Linked DNA regions of Homo sapiens: region 1 is linked to region 2. The links are contacts of gene promoters, found by promoter capture Hi-C in human tissues and cell types (Jung and others, 2019). All regions are on one chromosome and are shown on one strand. The core of a region is centred on a gene start or on the middle of the fragment in contact, and the rest is flanking DNA. Distances in the headings are between cores, read along the strand shown.

Region 1 (6,933 bases), core at 2,817-5,316, 91 kb before region 2:
GGCAGCTTGCTCTTGAGTGGAAGGGAAAGCCTCTACAGAATCATATGTAAAAATATTCTCTGGCAAATGCTATGGAGATTTGACCTGGACGGGAGTGGACTCCTTGAGAAAATGAGGTTTTGAAATCTGAAAGGAAGAATAGGTGTTAAAAGGTGAAGAAACGAGAGGTGAACATGTTAAGCAGAGCAAACAGCATTTACAAAAGGCCTATAGTGGGGTGCAGCATAGTGAGTACGAAGGGACCAAAGAATTTCATTATGGCTGGACAGAGAGCAGAGCTGAGTGTGAGATGAGGCCTGGGACGTGGAGAGAAGCCAGGCTATGCAGGACTTTGTTTGTCATGTTAGACAGCTGGTCTTCAATAAATGGGAAGCTACTGAAGAGTTTAGGTGGAAAATAGACTGATTTGTGTTATGAAAAGATCACTCTGACTGCCATATGAAGAAGTGATTTGATGGAGGCCAGAATAAATGTAGGTAGACAAGCTAGTATACTTCTGTAGTAAGTACGTGTATTAGTTATTTATGTCTGCATACCAAATGACCCCAAAACTTAATGGCTTAAAACAATAAACACTTATTATGTCACAGATTTTGTGGGTCATGACTCTGGGCAGGGCTTAATTGGGTTCTCTGGCTGTAACTCTCTCACAAGTTTACAATCAAGGTGTCGTCCAGAGCTGCTGTTATCTCAAGGCTTGACTGCAGGAGTATCTACTTCCTTGCTCACTCAAGTGGTAGTTGGCAGCATTCAGTTCCTCGTGGGTTCTTGGATGAAAGCCTCAGTTTCCTTGTGGGCCATGGCCAGAGGTCTCCCTCAGCTCCTTGCCACTTGGGCCTCTCCAAAGGCTCACAATGTGACAGCCGAGTTTCATCAGAATAAGCAAGGAGAGAGCAAGGGAATGAGAGCATGGCAGCGACCCTAATCTCAAAAACGCCATTCCATCACTTTGACCATATTCTCTTTATTAGTATTTAGGTCCAGCTGGCACTAGAAAGTAGGAGATTATACAAGTATTTGAATACTAGAAGTCAGAGACTCTTTGAAGATCTTAAAAGATAATGATACCCTGGATTATGAAGAGATACAGAAAAATATGTGGATTCAAGACATATATATTTAGAAAAAAATCAAATGAATTTGTTGATAGATGATTGTGGGATAAATTGTATCTCCCCCAAAATTCATGTTAAAGTCTTAACCCCCAGTACCTCAGAATGTGACTGTATTTGGTGATAAGACTTTTAAAAGGATGATTAAATTATTTACAGCTGTTAGGGTGGGATCTAATCTACTCTGATTGATGTCCTTATAAAAAGAGGAAATTCAGACACACAAAGAGACACCAGAACTGTGTGTATAGACAGGAAAGATCTTGTGAGGACACAGTGAGATGCTGACCATCTGCAAACCAAGGAGAGAGGGCTCAGGAAAAACCAAACTGAGACACATTGAGACTTGACTTCTAGCCTCCATAACTGTGACAAAACAAATTCCTGATGTTTAAGCTGCCCATTCTGTGGTATTTTGTTATAGGAGTCCTAGCCAACTAATACAACTGTTAACTCTGAGGGATGAGGGAAATAGAAATATCAACAATTTTTGTCAGGCTGTTTAGTTTAACTGGATCAATAGTGATGCCTTGCTCTAACAGGAAATACTAAAAGAGGATCAAGGTTAGGCAGATCATTTTTTCTTTAATTAAAAATATTCATTGTTCACCCACTGTTACTAGACACTTCTAGACACCAGGATAGAAAAGAGACAAAGCAAGCAGTCACTGACTTCATGGAGCTTATATCCCATGTAATGTGTGGGTCTGTTGTTCCAAACAGAGATCTGAGGTAGAGATAGATGCATTAGTAAGTGTTCTCCAGAGAAGCAGAACTAACAGGAGATAGATTAGATGGATGATTGATAAATAGATAGATAGATAGATAGATAGATAGATAGATAGATAGATAGATATACAATTGTTTCACAAAAGCCAAGGGAAGACAGGGTTTCAGAGACGAGGCAGTAGTCAACAGAATGGAACACTGGTGGGAGCACAAGTGAAATGAGGGGTGAAAAATTTGTGTTGGAATTGGTGTCATGGAGGTCAGTTGTAAGCTAGGTAAAAGCTGGATGGGTAGAGGGTCAAGACTGAAGAATGTGCTGAGTAGATAGTAAAAAGTGATGACATGTAAAAAGGGAGAACAGTCATCTTTTCCAAAAAATGTATGTGTGGATGGGCAGAGAGAAGGAGATGGTTGACTGAATGAGAAGAGGGTAAATCTACACACAAAAGAAGAAGTTTAATAAATCATGTGGGGCTGCTGAGAATAAAAACATAAAACTCTAGTCACAGGTGATGGGAAGGATTGGCCCCAGGTAAGAGGGGGAGCCTCATTATGAGACGTAGGCAGCTTGGACATGTGGTTTCAGGAGAAGGCAATATGTATAGTGGTCAAAGGCATAGACTCAAATTAGAATCCTGAGTGAAAACCTGACTGTCGCTTGCTAGCTGTGTGACTGTGGGCAAAGTATTTAAATTATCTGTGCCTCTATAAACAGGTGATAGAAATAGCGCCATTTTCCTAGGGTAGTTGATATATGTAAATTTTAAAAACTAGTGCCAGGCATATGGTAAGCATTATGTATATATTTATCATTGCTATTATTACTATCTCTCTGAACTAGAAGTCAGATAATCAACTCATAGTGAGAGTGAATGGGGGTGGGGGTTAGGGTTTGATGTAGGTAGAGAGGGTTAGAGAAGGAAATGCTGAGAGTAGGAAAGTAGTACAGAGATGCTGTAGTTGAATTGTCTAGTAATGTTGAATGTCCTTTCAAGGTTGGGATTATGAATTTGTCATAGACCCAGGTTGTTCTGTCATGTGAATATTCCAGCAGTGCTTAGCCATTTGGAAACAGAAGCAGAGAAAGTAGATATCTGAATACAATTAGATTGAGTTTTGCCAGATAGACTTTTAACACCAAGAGAGAGTAGGGCAAGGGAGTTTGAAAATGTTGGCAGAAAACTGTGTTTCATGGACTGGATAAGTCCTGGATAAGGCTGGATAAAGAAGGACATGAAGGAAAGAGCTGGAGGTTGAATTTGGACACAGTAGAGGAGGCTCATAAGACAAGTATTATGACCATACATCATAATACCACATCTGGCTTGTCAAGATGACTATCTATTAACTATAATTTAAACCCAACATGTATCAGTTAAAATAGGATTTGGTGTGATCTAAATAAGCAGTAGTAGTGCAAGGTAGAATAATTTAGTGTGTCTTAGTCTGCTAAGAAATAGTAAGTAAAAGTACACCAGTCGATTACATGAAAGCCCATTAGGTGATATCTTTAGGACAGAATCCCTTTATCAAGATATTATATGAGAGAAGAAAAAGAAAATGATAAGTTAGCATTACTTCCCACAGGCAGTGTAACTTGCTGGATGAAAAGAGTGTAGTAATTGAGGAAGATTTTTGAAAAGGCAGGGGGTAGAAGAGAATTCACTCAATTTGCATTGTTTCTTAGTGAAACATAGGGTTTTAAAATGGCTCTCAATGTTACTACTCAAAAGAAAAAAGTCATACCTTGGCTTGATATGCTGAGATCCTTTGAATGAGTGATGTAGTCGAGCTAATATGACTGTAATTTTCTCTCTAACTTCTGAGACCCTTGAGAAATTCCCTATGTGATCTCAAATCAATTATTTCATTGCATGCTAAAGATTAAAATAATAAAGAAGAACAATTATTTTCCTCTTGGAAGAACAAAGATTTACATACATAATTTGGAGTGCTCTAGATAGGATGCTAAAATCTGAGCCAGACTTTGGATTCTTTTAGGAAAACCAAACTTTAAAGTGTTACAGCTTTAAATTTCATAAAGCCTGAAAATTCTCAACGCCATTACCTGTTAAGGATTTTCCATAATAATATTGAATATATAATAAAAACTCACAATTATTATTCAGAGACATTATGTAGAAATAACTGAAATATATATTTGTGTCCAGAGGATTCATTCACGTATTGTTAAGGACTAAGAAGGTTTTGTGAAGCCTAGAAGAACAATATTGCATCTAACAAAACAGGTCAGTGTGAAGTTGCTTTATTGCCAGGACAAGGCAACATCCCAGTAGCCATTTTAGATCAGAGGATGAAGAAATAAATGGGCTCAAGACACAAAAGGCTTGCGAGAATACCATTTCCTCAGGGAGGGAAAAAGGGTTAGAGAAAGATATAAAGGGTCAAAAATATTTTTAAATTTATGCTAATGTTAAATAATTAAATTTAATTCTAACATTACTTAGCACATTCAGCAGATGATATGAAACGAGAAAAGATGCAATTGCACAAATCAGCAAATGGATCCCTTGCTTAGTTAAATGTTTTAGCAATCGGTTCAGTTGGAATACAGTGGTTAATTAGAGTAGATTCTGGCTAGAAACCCAGTCACCAAGTCTCATCTTGGTTTTTATAATAACCATGGGCAAGAGTTCAGCCTCTCTAAGCCAGTTTCCCCACCTATAAGAAGCACTTAAATTTAATTGATTTCTGTTACTCTTTTCAGCTCTAAGTTCTGTGACTGTTTCTGGGGCTCCAGTTTTCTTGATCAGCTGCAGCAACACTCCCAGCTTAATAACTTAGAGGTATTCACAAGCGCAAGATTATCTGTTACTTGTTGGAGATAGAATCCAAGAAAGGCTTAATTTCATGATTTTAAAGAGACCCAAGGAAGTGTATTTCCTCCATGTGGTTTTGGTTTAGGAAAATGTAAAGTACAACTCTGACTCAACTTGTGGGTGGTCAAATGGGGGGAAAGTAAACACAGGCTAGTTCTGTAATATGTTAGGGCATTGCAACTTTGTGTTTGTAGAAGCAGCCTGAGAAAAGATAAACAAACAAATGCTCAAATCAAGTGAAAAAAGAAAGCTTTTTGTTAGATCCAGCTATAAACACTTGGAATACACTGCTTCATAAAATGGAGAAAGCTAAGATGTCAGTCTGATTATTTTACCATTCTCCTCCACTCCCATCACCCAAACAAATATACACACAAAGAATCCACCTAAAAATTATCTTTGCAGCATTAATAATCTGCAATTTAATGTCAAGTAAACCAAAATCCCATTTTACAAAGTTCTTGGTCACGGTTTTTAATATGTATTTTATCCTAACATTTTTAAACTATATGTTATTTTTATATGATAGAATGTAACAGAGAGTGGCAGAGGCCCACATAGAACCTACATGTTTATTCAAAAGGAGTCACATTATTACGACATTGAAGCTTGTCTGGAGAAAATGTAATGGAAAATTTGAGGGATATATTGCGAAAGTTTTCCCACTGACTTTTTTTTATAGAATATTGACTGTATACCTCTAAAAGATAAGATTTTGTTTCACATAGATTATATTATTTAAAATCTTACAAAATGTATTAGTTATCTAAACATAAAAAACATTAAAAATCAATTTAATGCCATCTTGCTAACTAATAAAGAAAAATCAATCTGTAAGGGAGTAAATCGCTAAGAAAATGCCCTCTTTGACATGATTTGTGATTGAGGAAGTGTATAGAGGATATGTGGTATTTCTCGTTTATAATGATTTCAATTAATTCAAATAACTTTTGAAAGGAAATTATTAGTGTAATTTTGGGATTATACATCAAATTCCATACTTGGAAGTGTTGGAAGTATTATTTTTATTACAAAGTTAGTTTTTATATTTTTTAAAAAACACCTCCTTTCATTATCAAATGTATCTGAAGAAAAAAATAGGATGCTGAAATCTTAAAATTAGAAAAAGCATTTTATTTGAGTCAGTTTACTTATTTTTCTTGCCGTTTTCTCTATGTATGTATAATATAACCATACTCATAGGTGTGTATAGATGAGGCTAATGCTAAGACAGGAGCTAAAATAACAAGACTCAAACCGCAGTTATTGGCCCATAGGTAGCTCATTTCTGTGCTGAGATTACTTAAAATGTCTAATTTCTATTTAAAAGTTCAGAAAATTAGCAATCTATTTTATTTTTAAAAGACGAATACTGGCCCAATGTAATCCCAGCACTTTGGGAGGCTGAGGCAGGTAGATCACCTGAGCTCAGCAGTTTGAGACCAGCCTGGCCAACATGGCGAAACCCCATCTCTACTAAAAATACAAAAATTAGCTGGGCGTGGCGGTGCACGCCAGCTATTCGGGGGCTGAGGCAGGAGAATTGCTCGAACCTGGGAGGTGGAGGTTGCAGTGAGCCGAGATTGTGCCACTGCACTCCAGCCTGGGCGACAGAGTAAGACTCTGTCTCAAAAAAAAAAAAAAAAAAAAATATTGGAGGTGGGGTGTTTGGGGGGGGACGTCCATCAACTTTCAACCCTTTAATTAATTAGCTAATAATGTTTTATTGTTTTACCATGCAAAAGGACATTGTGATTTGTAGTTAATTTCAAAGACATTTCTTTGAATTTAAGAAAGTTTGACTTTAAGCTTTTAAAATAATTTAGTCAGTCGATTCATTCCTTTGTCAACAAGAAGGAGGTAGGAGGGTCTTACACACTTTACTGTAAAAGAATCTGTGACATACAGGTAGATTATAAATTACTTTTGAAACATCCATTGCAATTTGCTTCTCTCTCTCTCTCTTTCTCTCTCCCTCCCTCTGTTTTTAGTATTGTATTGGTGCCACACGTGGTTGTGGTGTATTATTTTACTCTTTCAAAGTGATGTCTTTCATAGTTCTCAGATTTAAAGAGCTCTTAAAATGAAAAATCAATTATTTTAAATATTTAGTTGCTTGAACTTTTTTTCTCCTCCAGGTAAGCAGATAAAATGTGGAATGAATGGATTAATTTTTTTTGTATGACTTAGAACCACATGTGGTCTATGTGTATAGCTAGGAATCATGCATTTTTATAAATGTAAAAAAAAGT
Region 2 (7,325 bases), core at 3,911-6,410:
AAGATCCTAAATCTGAGCCCCCATTGTGTATCTGAATAGAAAAGATATTGATAGGAATTAAAAATCAGTCTCCATTTGAAGCATGTAGATTCCCTGTTTGGCTTTGACCTATTTCATGTATCTATCAGAAGATCGTGATTTGGGCCTTCCTTTTATCTTTACACAGAATTGGCTACATCTGAAGAGCTGTTACAGCTGTGTTGGATATTGCTGAAAATTCCTAAGGATGACTCAGATGACAAATTATATTTGATAGAGAGTCTAGTGGGATTTGCAGAGTGGAGCTTCAACCCTGAGAATGATTAAGTTAACTGAAGACTCAACAGGGAACGCCTGAGCTGCTTCACGATGTGGCATCCCAGTTTCTGTGTCACCCCTGTGGTAAATTTATAAAGTAATCACACTATTCAGGAATGAGATTAGGTAAGGAGATGAATTTCAATTTCCTATGAATTTTCAAATATAATTACAATAATAATTATGATAGTAAATAAAGCTATAATTAAAATATAAGTATATCAGAACTTCGTTCAAGAGAACATGCTTACAATACTTCAGAAAGTTTCACAATTCAAGTAGAGGCTTACCAGTAGTTTCCCTTTCAATGATTAATAGTCTGTTATGTTAAATAAGATTTCAGGTGACATGTTTATGTCTACATAAGCAAAAACTCATAGCTACTTATCTACTTATGTGAAGCAACATTGATATAACAAATACAAGTTATCTTACATGTATATTAAGGAAGTTTCCTAGAAATTTTTACTTGCTTGAATTTTTGTCAGCTTTTAAAAGTATATACATACGTATTTAATTATACATATATATGTGGGGGGTATATAAACATATACACACGCAAACACACAAAAACACATATGTGAACTCTTTTGCATGCCCTAAGATTGTACTTCATTAAGTGTAAAGTAGTGGACTTTTACTTAAATACAATACTGAAAATTACTCAAAGATTAATGACAAGACAAAAATCAGAATGGTAATTTTTGTAAATTGGCCATTAACTCCATAACATTATCATTTTTTTCATCCTTTCACAATGCCTCATTAGAAAACATACAAAATTAAGTGTCAGATTTGTATTTACCACACTTCTAAATTGCGTAAAAATATCTTTACCACAATCAGTGATTAGTGGAAAGCATGGTGAAAATATTTGTAAAGTGTGCTAGTCAGTTCCAGTTGCAATGAATTATTTTGAGGGTCATGGAACCTCTTTGAACTTTCTGTTCAATCTTGGGATACTTCCCAGCTGCAAAACACAAAGACAAAAATTCAGAGCCTTAGCTTTAATAGCAAAGAATAGGTAGGAATCAAGATACTCAGTTTTTTCTAACTAAATTTTACTGGAACTTTACTTTACTAAATGTCAAGAAAATATGGATTTTGTACAAAAGTGAAAATTTTTAGTTATTTACAATTCCAATGAGTAATTTTGAGAGTCATGTAACCTCTTTAAACTTTCTGTTCATTCTTGGGATACTTTTCAGTTGCAAAATACAAAGATAAAAATTTAGAGCCTTAAGTTTAATAACAAAGAATAGATAGGAATTGAGATACTTCGTGTTTCCTAACTAAATTTTACTAAAACTTTATTTTACTAAATGTCAAGAAAATATAAATCTTGTACAAAAGTGAAATTTCCAGGCTAAAAAGAAATGGTTATTAAAATGGTTCTATAAGAAAAAAACAAGGGGTCAATGAACTCTACCTTGGGGACTAAGGGGAAATTAAAGAAAAGGGTCTTGAAGACTTGGTCATATAATCACTCAAAAACTGGACTATCATGTCCCACTGCCAGTGTAATTTGCCTCAATCCTGGACATATCTATGGTTAAATATGTTTAAGTCCTGCAAGTACAACATGACTTTTTCAACCATATTTTTGGCTCTACTATGCACATACTAGTATTTGTTCAAATTCTTTTAAAGGAAACACAACTCTTCAAATGTGGTTTTACCTTTATCAACTGAGTGAACTGATCAACCTCTCTGGGAATAATAAAGAAGACCTGCATTGTATTTTACAGTTGTATTGGTAGTTCTATTATCACAAGTAGTTTTTAAATGGCTTTACAGTGATTTGAAATCTAGAAAATGTCCCTAAAAATAAAGCATCTTGCTGGCTTCAAAAAGAAAATCACACATAAAGCCGCACAACAAAGGGGAGGGGAGAGGAAAGAGAGAAACATTGAAACATTTCTGTTCCATGTGTTTTCCATGGTGGAGATAATTGATTTTCTTAGTGCTGTTGTAGAAAGCGCTGCTGGCATTCACTGGCCTACTGAGTTCATCACAGCTGTGCTTGTGCATCTCTCTCAAGCTCCACTTTCCACTGAATTGGAAAAGATTTGAATTTTTGGTTGATAATCTGCCACACCCTTGCTTTGCCTCATCTTTCCAGGCACTCTCTTTGTTAAAGGAGATCCAGATTAATCAGTGCTTTAGTTGGTGCAGGTATTTAGATTTGTGTTAAAGCTCCAAATGCAATCCAAAAAGCAAAATGACATGTTTATGTGTCCTGGTTAACATCAGTGAAGTCAGGGAAGTATGGGAAGAAATGTGTGGCTAGATAACAATGAGGACAGCAGTTCCTGGATGGCATAATAGGATTCAGAAGTGTATGCATTTCACCTAGTTCAGACCCTGTATTAAGAAATGCTTTGACCCCGTATTAGGAAATGCTTTGACAGGAGGTAGAAAAATAGGATCTGGGACACAGAATGCAAAGGATCCTAGTGCAAAACCTCCATATTCGAGGTAGTGAAGAATCGTAAATCAGAATATCTGGAGAATGAATTCTCTAGGTCTCTCCTGAAGACCTTAAAATACAACAATCCTTCCATATGCAAAACATCAGCTAATGTTTCTTAAGTGAGTGCATCAATCATGAATTTTTCTCATGAGTATAAGGCTTTTATTTGAATAGCTAAGCAAATTAAGAATTTTAGAACAATAGTAATTTTATTTATAATGCCTAAAATAAAGCATAACAAGCATTATTTTAAAAATAACATTTCTAATTTTTCACAGTGGAAAATAAATCTAATGAAGAAATTCAATAAATTTCAGCTTTTATAGACCACCTAAAACAATGAGAGAAATCTAATATAGATATATGAATTCTACGTAGATACAAAGACATCATGAGAAAAACTATGTTTCTGAATTGGTTTGAACACAGGAAATATTTTTTGTGTACAGGACAAAGATGTCTGAAAGACAGAAAGATGCATATAACAGCCTTTCCCCAGCATCTCTACTGTGATCCAGTAGAAAAGCTTATATTCATGACCATTCTCAACAGTTACTTTTCTCCCACGCCCCCAAGCAGTGACTCTCCAATCTAAAATAAAGATACACAAGAGGTTGGTCTCGTTCTAGTTTTCCTTTCCTGTCATCAAATGATGTCATCTACATTGAGATGTCTTGGTTTGTGTCCTTGTGACTGAAGATATAAGAAAGCTTGGGAGGCCGAGGCGGGCGGATCACGAGGTCAGGACATCAAGACCATCCTGACTAACACGGTGAAACCCCGTCTCTACTAAAAATACAAAAAATTAACCAGGCGTAGTGGCGGGCGCCTGTAGTCCCAGCTACTCGGGAGGCTGAGGCAGGAGAATGGCGTGAACCCGGGAGGCGGAGCTTGCCGTGAGCCGAGATTGCGCCACTGCAGTCTAGCCTGGGCGAGAGAGGGCGACCCCGTCGCAAAAAAAAAAAAAAAAAAGATGCAAGAAACAAGAAAGCAAGTTTGCCACTGTCCATGCTTACAGGATTCATGTACACCTGGGAATATACATATGACATGAGTTGAGTGAAAATTTAGTAACACAAATTAGAAGAAAGAGAAAGATGAAAATTAGTTTAAAGGAGGTAATTTACTTAAGGAGGAAAGTTTTGCATTGAGGCATAAGGAAGTGACTTCCATTAATTGGTGTGAAATGGGGAGAATTTTATGTGCACAGGCATAGAGACGGACATGTTTAGGTGAAGGTGAAGAAAATTAGTTCAAGTGACCTTGATTAGAATTGAAATGTCCACCGTAGATTATAGAGATAGATGAACTAACTATGAACTGATGATTAGGGTGTAAAGAGATATCTCCATTGCCAGATATAGCCTTATACTGTGGACAAGCATATTTTTCCTGCAGAGATTTATCAAAGACCTATAAATGGTATTTGCCCCTCTTTCAAATATGACACAAAAATTACTGCTTAGATAGATCCAGAAATACATTGGAAAGTTTTGTGGATGAGGATCTGGAAAGTATACACATAAAAGTCTAAATTAGAAATATTTATACTAATCTTTAGAGTAATGCAGAAAAAATGACCACTTTCTCTGGTACTCTTTTGCTATTCTATGTGATAAACTCTTTCTCTTCCAGTTTCCTAAAAAGTTATGTCATGAAAAGGCTGAATTTTTCTCTAGAAAAATCTGCTCTGTCTTTCCCAGGCAGCATAAAAATTGGAAATCTCACAAGAAAGCACTCTGGCTTGCTAAAGAAATTTGTGAGAAATGGAAACAGCTATAGATAAGTATCTAACTTTTAGGAAGCCATTCAAACATTGCTGAAATACTTTGTCTTTTGATATTTGCCTGAAACTTAACTTCTAGGACCCAGGGTGGGTGGATGAGTCGAAGGGGCATACGGTGGCATTTCTTTCCGTGAGTCTCTTACAGTCTCCTATTTAAATTGAGTTAGGATTACTTCTGGCAAAATCCCAACATAAAAATCTTCTAGGAAGATCAGTTCTGTAAATTAGACATACTAGATAAATGGGCATCAAGCAGTTTTTCAAAATTATGCAGTTGTTAACTTCATAAGGGGAAATAAAAATGTATGCATTTACATTGTATGTATTAAAACAAGGCAGAGCATTTCTATACGTTCCTAAGTTATACAAACATATATGTAAGAGTGAAATATGTAAAAAAACTTTTACATAAGCAGATGCATACAAACTCCAGATGTGCTCTTTTTCTTACTGTGGGTTGTGTCTTCTATAAGGGAAAAAGAAATATTTATCATTTCTTTTACTGCTGAGGGGATGGGTGCGGCTCTCATATTTCAGAAAGGGGCTGGAAAGTGAGGGAAGCCAAACTTTTTCCTATTTAAGGCCAAAGCAAAGGAATCTCAGTGGCTGAGTTTTATGACGGGCCCGGTGCTGAAGGGCAGGGAACAACTTGATGGTGCTACTTTGAACTGCTTTTCTTTTCTCCTTTTTGCACAAAGAGTCTCATGTCTGATATTTAGACATGATGAGCTTTGTGCAAAAGGGGAGCTGGCTACTTCTCGCTCTGCTTCATCCCACTATTATTTTGGCACAACAGGAAGGTGAGTAGGTACTGATTTCAAGAAACTTTATGGGATTTTTGTCTTTCTTCTCCTCACAAAGAGGGGTGTAAAGGGGAAAATCAGTTGCCTGATTCAAGATAATTTCCTCTATAAGCTCCAGATTGTGAAACGTTGAACTGACCATGGCTGTGCTTTTTACATTACTTGAAAAATAATCGCGTTATGTGTGTTTTTAAGAGTTCTGTGGTTAAGATAAGATGTTCTTGTACTAACTTGTTTTCATGTTAAAGGCACTGGAAACTTTTAAAAATGGCTTTAAAATTTTTCCCTCCTGGATTGTTAACATCTTGGAATACTTCCCCAGGCAGTCTGGAAGTTATTGGTCTCTTGCAATAATTTTATGTTCCTCTTTGTCTGCTGGATTCTTTGTAAGGTTAGAATATTGAGCATTGTTTTCTGAATAAGAATGCCTTTCAAATATCATGGATTAAGAACAGTCTAAAGGAAGATTCTACGCATTATCAGAATCATTGAATATATTTCTGTAAAATGGCTACAAGATACCTATAAACATTCTTCAAAGGGATCAAACTGCTAAAATATTTTATTATTCCTGTTTTTATTTTGTTTCAAGAATGATTGATTAATTCATCTTTTCTAGTAGCTTGATATTAAGGGACTAATATTTTCCACATATTCTACGTTTTAACCACATTCGCATTAATGAAGAAAATATTTTTTAAAATGTTTCAACAGGAGGTTTGACTTTGCTGCAAACAAGGTAAAGATACTAGTACTGTTTGACTTCAGAAAGCTGTTTTGCTATATTTTCTAATAATTGCATGTAATGTTTTTCATATTCTAATTTCCCCTAAAAACACATTTGTCTCATTATTTATGTGAAAATATTCTTTTATTTACCATAGTCATGAAAATGCTGAACAAATTGGAATACAAACTTCCATAGAAATAAATATTTAAGTGCTAAATGTAAAGATAGCTAGGAGAAATTATTAGACAATTTTTATTGCACATAACTAAACATGGTTACATTTAAACATATAGATTTTGCAAAGGACACTGCATGAAAATTTGGTTTTTGTTTGTAATATCAAATGTATTTGTTGTCCTCATAGCTAATACATGTAAATGTGTGTATGAGGGGAGGGGTAGATATACAATGAAATGTCTTCAGTTATATTCAGCCCATGGACACAAAAGAAAAGAAACACCCATTTTCCTTGTTCCCTTAATTTCCTCTCCTCCTTACCCCTCCTCTCCTTCGCTTTGCCCTCCTCCTTATCTCTCTCCACCCCTTTTGGCTCCTTTAGACTTCTCTTCACTCATCACCCCACCCCTTCCTAGGCAAGCCCATATCTACTCCTCTCTCCTCCTCTGTCTTCCCTGCCTGTTACTCCCTCCCTACTCCCCATGTGGCCTCCTTATGCCTCCATTTCTTTTTTTTAGTTCTCTCTCTCCTTGCCTCCTCACCCTTTCTTTCCCCTGAACTCTCAATCCTTCTTCCTTTCTCATTCCTCTCCCCTTTTCCTCCCTATCCTGCTCTTCCCAGGAGATGCTACAACTCACAGTCCTTTTTTAGGATACCAAATGACTACTATCCCCCACCAACCATTTATTGAAAAGACTACAAACTTAGGGGTTTTAGCTCAAAAAATTGCAACATATTTGTAGTTGCCTCGTGGTTGCAAGCTTTTTATAAGCACTGTGGCTATTTTTCTTCCCAATCCAACTTTAGTGGGGGGGTGTTTGCCACTTACAGTACCTTGACATCACATTAAGTTCTGTTTATTTCCCTCTTTCTCTTTAGATGCAAAAAATAATCAATAAGTATAAAATTTTGCTGATATGTGTTTGTGTGTTCTTAAGCTCAAAAAGAGTTGAAAGAGAACTGTTCAGCCTATTTTTTTTGTCATGAGTAAAAGTAAAGTTGAAGTGACTTAAGACAGTACATCTTATGTTCCCTGTGGGTTTTACAAGGAAATTCTGC

The links. The method cuts DNA at HindIII sites, captures the fragments that hold promoters and counts their contacts. A contact is called where the count stands out against the background at its distance.
Region 1: a contact is called between a fragment that was not itself captured here and the fragment with the promoter of COL3A1 in region 2, in 2 of the 25 tissues and cell types used here (bladder and mesenchymal stem cells).

The regions. Positions count from the first base shown.
Region 1 is chr2:188,879,464-188,886,396 of GRCh38, forward strand. No RefSeq gene overlaps it. Among named protein-coding and RNA genes, the nearest start is that of COL3A1, 91 kb to the right of the region's middle. The HindIII fragment of the contact is 3,646 bases long and covers 2,244-5,889 here.
Region 2 is chr2:188,969,213-188,976,537 of GRCh38, forward strand. It overlaps COL3A1 (collagen type III alpha 1 chain), which reads left to right and starts at 5,161. Exons shown (of 51, transcript NM_000090.4): 1 at 5,161-5,356. The coding sequence starts at 5,278. LOC105373791 (a long non-coding RNA gene) reads right to left here. Exons shown (of 3, transcript XR_007087614.1): 2 at 1,135-1,267. The HindIII fragment of the contact is 6,513 bases long and covers 669-7,181 here.